Linked DNA regions of Homo sapiens: region 1 is linked to region 2. The links are contacts of gene promoters, found by promoter capture Hi-C in human tissues and cell types (Jung and others, 2019). All regions are on one chromosome and are shown on one strand. Each heading gives the region's core, a stretch centred on a gene start or on the middle of the fragment in contact. The rest is flanking DNA. Distances are from core to core; before and after follow the strand shown.

Region 1 (3,908 bases), core at 1,149-3,648, 200 kb after region 2:
CTCTGCAGGCCCTGCCCCTCCTGTCAATCCAGGCACTGCTAGGGACATGGGCCGGGTCAATGGTGGGGCCCGGGTACCCGTGGACCGGCCAACAAAGGTGTCATCCCGGTAGACACGGTCAATGTGGCGCTGCAGCATGGCCTCTGTCTCAGCGCCAGCCTCCGCCTCCGCCTCCAGCGCCTGCAGGGACACCCGGGCCCCCATCCCTGAGGTGCCTCGGGGGCGGCCGTCCACTGTGGGGATGCGTACGGCATCCCGTGCACCAGGAGCCCGGGGCGTGCCTGGTGCCTCACGCTCATTCCTCAGGCCTGGAAGGGACAGGGAGGAGGTGGGGTCAGCAGAGAGGGGATGACCAAGGCTCCCCACCCACCCCACCACTGCCCTCCTAACCCAGGCCTCACCAAGCTCCTTCTGCACATGCTGCGGGAGTCCCAGCACAGTGCTCCGCCGCTCCCGCCGACGCCGCCCTGACTTTCCAGATTTGGGAAATGAGTCATGGGGTCGGAAGGTGGAGCCTGGGGGCCAGTCGTGGGAGAAAAACTGTTAGAGCAAAGGACTCCAGGCACATTCTGCAGGGCACTACTTTTGTAATAAGAGCTCTGCGAGAAATGGTTTCCACAGTCAAGTAGGTATGGGCAAGGCTAGGTTAAACAAAGCTAGAGGCTTCTTTCTGTAAGACTAAGGCTACTAAGTCAATGATGGTAATTTCCCTTTAGTGATAGCTTACTATTTAGTAAACATATTATTACGTGTTAGTCGTCATTCTAAACATTTGGCATTCATTCCAATAGGGTACTTATCCTCATTTTTATAGAACATCAAACAGAAGTTCAGAGAGGTTAAGGGTTTTCCCAAGGTCACACAGCTGGCACTAGTTAGTTACACCAGGCTTCCAACAGTTAAGATTTTCTAACTCTTTTTTTATTTTTTTTTTGAGATGGAGTCTCACACTGTCGACCAGGCTGGAGTGCAGTGGTGCAATCTCGGCTCACTGCAAGCTCCACCTCCTGGGTTCACGCCATTCTCCTGCCTCAGCCTCCCAAGTAGCTGGGACTACAGGCACCCGCCATCAGGCAAGGCTAATTTTTTGTATTTTTAGTAGAGACGGGGTTTCATTCACCGTGTTAGCCAGGATGGTCTCGATCTCCTGACCTCGTGACCCGCCCACCTCGACCTCCCAAAGTGCTGGGATTACAGGCGTGAGCCACCGCACCCGGCCGCCAAGATTTTCTAACTCTTAACTGCTTTATAGTTAGTGTGTATCACGAATGTGCAAGAGGACACAGGGTACTGTGTTTCCCGAATTCATTGAATCAGAGAGCCTGGTGAAACACTGGATAAGGAGGAAAAGAAGCTACAGATGCTGGGACCCAATGGAGCCCACTGTCCCTCTCCCCTGCCCATGAATCCACCTTTGCGCTGGATCATCTCCGAGCGGATGGAGAGCGCGTCCTCTGCTGTGGAGCTCTCAGCCACGTAGGATGTGGTCTGACTGCAGAAGGAGATGTTGTCTTCATCCGGCCCCGTCCGGGAGGACTATCAGGGTAGAAGGAGATCTGGGTGGGGCTGTCTCCTCAAGGCTCCCCATTGGAACTTTTTTTTGAGACAAATCCAGCTCAGGCTGGAGTGCAGTAGCGAAATCTTGGCTCACCACAACCTCCGCCTCCCAAGTTCAAGCGATTATCCTGCCTCAGCCTCTCAAGCAGCTGGGATTATAGGTACCCTCCCACCATGCCTGGCTAATTTTTGTATTTCTAGTAGAGACAGGGTTTCACCACTTTGGCCAGGCTGGTCTCAAAATCCTGACCTCAAGTGATCCGCCCACCTCAGCGTCCCAAAGTGCTGGGGTTACAGGTGTAAGCCACCTCGCCCAGCCTCCCACTCGAACTTTTGAGTCACAGATCCCCTCCAGCATCACCTAGCACTGAGCAACCCTGAACTAGCCCTCAGGGTTCATTTAGTGTAGCCCTTTGTGATAAAGAAACTGAGACCCAGAAATGTTCCAAGACATCCTTGCCAGGGGTCAAGCAGGTAGAGAAGAGTCAGGACTGAGCTGGAGGCAGGGCTCACCTGGATACTCTGGGTGTCTCCATGGTCCCAGCCACCCTTGTTCAGTTTCTGTTTCTCTGGAAGACACCAGAAGGGTCTGTTGGGTTAGGCCCCTGACCTTGACAGCTGACAGTGCAGCACTGGAGGGAGGAGAGGGGAGGGGAGTGGAGAGGAAGCTTACCTTGGTGTTGTAGGGAGCGGAGCCCCTCCTGGGCCTGAGTGTGCAGCTCTTCCAGGTGGGGGGGTCGCCCACTGGGAAAGAAGACGTTGTCCTGGTGCTCATCCACTGCAGACCCTGGCCCCTGGCCAGGCCCTACACTTAGATGTTTGTCATTCTCAGCCTTGGCAGAGCCTAGTAGGAGGGAGGAGGAAGGGAAATGAGGTAAAGGCATCTGGGCCCTGCAGGGGCACAGGTCTCACGGCAAGGGCAGTCATGGTCCCCAGACTGCACACGGCCATTGCATATACAAGCAATGCCCCCTTCCCCAGTCTGGACACATAACCCACAGTTCTGGAGTAAACACTCAACACACACAGCCCCCATATACACAAACTACACCCAAGTGTACATAAATCTGAGTACCCACACCACACAAAGGGCCCCATATAAGGCCCCACACACAGGGCACACAGGTACACAGGTCTACTGTGTACGTACACAGCACTCACAGATGTCATTCATGTATATAAACAAAGGGCATCCGAGTATAAACACACATAGGTACACACACCAAGCACACCCAGCCCGCACGTAAACACACAACACCCACAGTCCCTGCTCTGTATATACACAAACAGTAACCAAGTATACACACGACTATGTACTCACACGTCACTCAGAGCCCCACAAAAAACATCCCGAGTATACACATAGCCCATAGTAAATACATTGCTCTCGCCTCCATACCCAAAACCCCACTTCACAGGAAAACAAACCACTCTTTTCATGCCACCACTTGAACCAGGTCCAGGAAGAAGATATCACGGGAAATCAGGAAGGAGAGACAGCTGGCATGAGTTACAACCATATTCCCAGAAAATCCTAGGGGGGATGCAGACCAAGGAGATAGCCTCCTGGGTCCCCTACTCACCCATGTGGCTGCCCCTTAGTGGAAGGATGGGCAGGGGAGGGGAGAAGAAAGACCCAGGCCCCTCCACCCGCCCAAGGGAGCTCCAGTCTCTCTTGGGGAAATAGTCCCAGGTATCCCCCTCTCCTGGAGGCCCTGGCCCTGGCCCTGGCCCCTGTTGCAGAGGAGCCAGGGATCCATTACAAAGGATCCTGTTACAAGCCCCGCCTGTGGAGGGGCTGGCCATCTAATCCTGGGGATGGGGGGCTGTGTCAGCACTTTGCAGCCCCAGCCCCCCCTTTAAATGAAACCCACAACATAAGCAAAAGCGCTGGAAGGGTCATGTGACCTTGGTAACACCTTATAAAGGGACGGGAACAAAACAAGCCCTTTAAAGGGCCATGCTCCAGGAGCAGGGTCTTCAGTTCAGAAACCTGCCTTTCCTCCTCCCTCAGCCCATTCGTCAACAGCCAGAGCTCCTGCCCTAGGGAGTCTGCAGGAATCCCACAGGTCAGAGCTAGGAGGCCCCCAACAGATCCAACCAGACCAGTGCCCGAGATCCCCAGATTTTACAAGTGGGGAAACGGTTCAAAGGGGCAAGGCCTTGCCTAAGGTCACCCAGCAGTAGGAGTCAGACTGACCCTGGACTCAACTCCAGGTTCCCAGAGGGGACTCCCGGATCACACTCAGAGTAGGGGCCCCCAACCCTCAAAAGTCCAATAAACTCTTGTCCCTATGTCTTAATCCAGGTCTGAAAGCCCAATTCCTAGGAGAAGGAAGGAGGAACAGGCC
Region 2 (3,816 bases), core at 507-3,006:
AGAGAATGTTTCCCAGGCTCCCTTGCAGCTGAGTATGGCCATGTGAGTGAGTATGTTTTGGCAAAAATGTGCGGGACTTTCGAGGCAGTCCTTTTTTCTTTCTTTCTTTTTCTTTTTCTTTTTTTTTTTTTTTTGAGACAGAGTCTCGCTCTGTCGCCCAGGATGGAGTGCAGCGGCGCGATCTCGGCTCACTGCAACCTCCGCCTCCTGGGTTCACGCCATTCTCCTGCCTCAGCCTCTCGAGTTGCTGGGATTACAGGCGCCCGCCACCACGCCCGGCTAATTTTTTATATTTTTAGTAGAGACGGGATTTCACTGTGTTAGCCAGGATGGTCTCCATCTCCTGACCTCGTGATCCGCCAGCCTGGGCCTCCCAAAGTGCTGGGATTACAGGCGTGAGCCTCCGCGCCCAGCCCCAAGGCAGTCTTCTTAAAAGGAAGAGGATGCATCTTTCTTCCCTTTTTCCTTCCCACTGTTTGGAATATGGACCATAGTGAGGTGACCTTAACACTGGAAGCCAAATACTGAGGATGGCTGAACAGCCCTGAACTGCCTACTTTTGGACTTATATTTCATGGAAAGAGAGAAATTTCTGGCTAGGTGCAGCGGCTCATGCCTGTAATCCCAGCACTTTGAGAGGCCAAGGCAGGAGGATCGCTTGAGCCCAGGAGCTCGAGACCAGCCTGAGCAACACAGGGAGATTTCATCTCCATGAAAAAAATAAAAATAATAGGCAGGCCTGGTGGCGCACCTGTGCTCCCAGCTACTCCAGAGGTTGGGGTGGGAGGATCGCTTAAGCTTGGGAGGTTGAGGCTTCAGTGAGCTGTGATCACGCCACTGCACTCCAACCTGGGTGACAGAGCAAAACCGTCTCAGGAAAAAAAATAAATAAATTTCAATCGTAAGCTATTTTTTTCTTTTGTTATTTGCAATTGAATGTAATCCTGATACATTCCTGTTGTTGAAGCTGTTTGCCTGCCTCCCACTAGGAAGCCTAAGGGTCCAGATCCTCCCCCAGTCAGAGGAATGGGGAACTAGAAAAAGAAAGGCAAAGGCACTGCCAGGCAAGAAAACGCTGGGTCTCCTTCCACAAGTTTGGTAAGTAAGCAAGATACCAGGAGGATAGAATGGTAAGTGAGCCTAGAAATAGACTATTATATACATAGGGTTTATTAAATACATAGAGAACACTGAATGCTAGACTAAGAAATTTGGACTTTATTCTGGAAGTCCCTTGCAATAGGGGACCTTGTCTGTTTTATTTTCTAATGCCTCGCACTTTGTAGAAGCTCAGTGAATGAATATATTCTTTATTAATTTATGCCGTCTGCTTAATAAACAGAAATGTTGGAAGGTGAACCAGTTGGGAGTCACCATCTGATCAACCCCTGCCTGCTTTTTATAAATAATGTAACTGAACCATCATTTACTGGAAGTGGCAATCAACCTGTGAGGAACGGCAAACCAAAAAGTCCACCTTGGGTGTCATGGTGATGGAATTGGAGGCGGAGACCAGGGAGAGCAGCGGGCTAGGATCTCTGAGAGTCTCCGCAACATGGCGGCCCTGGAACCACCTGACCGGCAGGAGGCGGAGCTCCGCCCCAGCTCGCTCGGCCCCACCCCGCTCGGCCCTGCCCAGCGCACTCCTAGACCGGGGCGCAAGGGTTGTGAGGTGTTTGAGCGAAGCGCCTGCGCAGGGCAGCGGCGCGCGGGGCGGAGGCTTTATAATCACTTCGTCGTTGCCGCTCGGCTTCTATCGCCGGGAGGGCGGTTGAGGCGGTGGTGGCGGCGTCGGCGGCGGCCGGGCGCTGGCTGAGGGGCGCTGAGGCGGGAGCTGTGGCGGCGCTGGGCGCCCCTGGCTCCTCGGCCTCTGCCGGCCATGGGCTCCGAGAAGGACTCCGAGTCGCCGCGCTCCACATCGCTACATGCGGCCGCACCCGACCCTAAGTGCCGCAGCGGCGGCCGGCGCCGGCGCCTCACCTTGCACAGCGTCTTCTCTGCCTCGGCCCGCGGCCGCCGCGCCCGGGCCAAGCCGCAGGCCGAGCCGCCGCCCCCGGCTGCGCAGCCGCCGCCCGCCCCGGCCCCTGCCGCGGCCCAGGGCCCGCCGCCCGAGGCGCTGCCCGCCGAGCCGGCCGCCGAGGCCGAGGCGGAGGCCGCGGCGGCGGCGGCGGAGCCTGGGTTCGACGATGAGGAGGCGGCGGAGGGCGGTGGCCCGGGCGCGGAGGAGGTGGAGTGTCCGCTGTGCCTGGTGCGGCTGCCGCCTGAGCGGGCCCCGCGCCTCCTCAGCTGTCCGCACCGCTCGTGCCGGGACTGCCTCCGCCACTACCTGCGCCTGGAGATAAGCGAGAGCAGGGTGCCCATCAGCTGCCCCGAGTGCAGCGAGCGACTCAACCCGCACGACATCCGCTTGCTGCTCGCCGACCCGCCGCTTATGCACAAGTACGAGGAGTTCATGCTGCGCCGCTACCTAGCCTCGGACCCCGACTGCCGCTGGTGCCCGGCCCCGGACTGCGGGTGAGCGCGGGGGCGTGGCGCGGGTGGCGGCGGGCTGCAGCCGAGGGGCGTGGCTGGGGGCAGCAGGGACCCCGCGTGGGTGTCCCAAGCAGGGAAACCCGCAAGGCGGCAGCTTCGGCGGGGTGGTAACCATCAGGCAAGCCCAGACTAGTGGTGTGAACGCACCCGACACCCCGCCCCCTGCCCCAGGGCTCGAGGTGGCTGCTAAGCATTCGGTGAGGGGAAGGGAGCTGTCCAAGTTAGGAGACAGGGAGAGGCGGTTTTTTTGTTGGGGGAATGCCCTCTGTCCGGAGGTGAGGACAGTATCTTTTTTTTTTTTTCTTTTTTTTTTTGGAGACGGAGTCTCGCCCTGCCGCCCAGGCTGGAGTGCAATGGCGCGATCTCGGCTCACTGCAACCTCCGCCTCTCAGGTTCAAGCGATTCTCCTGCCTCAGCCTCCCGAGTAGCTGGGATTACAGGCGCCCGCCACCACACCCGGCTAATTTCTTTGTATTTTTAGTAGAGATGGGGTTTCACCATGTTGGCTAGGCTGGTCTCGAACTCCTGACCTCAGGTGATCCTCCTGCCTCGGCCTCCCAAAGTGCTGGGATTACAGGCGTGAGCCACCGCTCCCGGCCAAGGTGGGGAGTATCTCTTAATGAGAGTGGGGAGGGGATATTTGGCCAAGGAGGGAATGAGAATATTCTGAGGGGGCAGCGCGTCGGAGGGGTGTGTCCACTTGGCTAGGGACAGACTTAGCATTGCAGAAGAAGGCGTGTTCTCCCTGACAACCACCGCTGAAAGTTGGGATGGAGGTGACTGGGGAATAGGCTCTCGGGTACCCTGAGCACTATGTGTTCTGTGCCACGCTATCGGGAGGCACTCTGTCGTTCTTACCTTGCTGCCTTGGGTAGGGTGAGGGGTAGACAGATATGTTCTTTGTCCAGAGTCTCAATGGGGGCACTGAGAAGAATGCCCAGAGGTTGGTGTGATAGGAGAAATTGTGTTTCTGAACCCCTTTGATCTTGAGTTCTTGATGACAGTCTTTTTAATGCACCATGTAGGCTGAATTTTAAAGGGCAGTAAATTAAAATATGCAATATCTGCAGAGACATAATACACCAGATTTTGCTATCTGAAGCATTCAGTGGAGACCTTCCTCGCCCTCCCCGCCTTTAGAAGTCTAATTGTTACTGTCAGTATATCCCATGAAGGGGTTGCACGCAGGAAGAGGGGCTCATTTAAGTAGTTGGGAGTCAGACAGCCATTACCTGTTCTGTGACCTTGGGCAGATAATTTTATTCTTGTGTGTCATGTTTTGGC

The links. Contacts are between HindIII fragments. The study calls those that stand out against the background at their distance.
Region 1: a fragment that was not itself captured here is called in contact with the fragment with the promoter of RNF19B in region 2 in 1 of the 25 tissues and cell types used here (liver).

Annotation. Positions count from the first base shown.
Region 1 is chr1:32,766,280-32,770,187 of GRCh38, reverse strand. It overlaps NHSL3 (NHS like 3), which reads right to left. Exons shown (of 7, transcript NM_020888.3): 2 at 2,231-2,401; 3 at 2,071-2,126; 4 at 1,413-1,536; 5 at 402-515; 6 at 1-308. Among named protein-coding and RNA genes, the nearest start is that of NHSL3, 26 kb to the right of the region's middle. RefSeq lists enhancers at 1-713, 2,760-3,653, 3,654-3,908. The HindIII fragment of the contact is 8,899 bases long and covers 1-3,908 here.
Region 2 is chr1:32,962,749-32,966,564 of GRCh38, reverse strand. It overlaps RNF19B (ring finger protein 19B), which reads left to right and starts at 1,756. Exons shown (of 9, transcript NM_001300826.2): 1 at 1,756-2,514. The coding sequence starts at 1,880. RefSeq lists silencers at 1,472-2,041, 2,402-2,611 and an enhancer at 1,657-2,161. The HindIII fragment of the contact is 6,156 bases long and covers 1-3,816 here.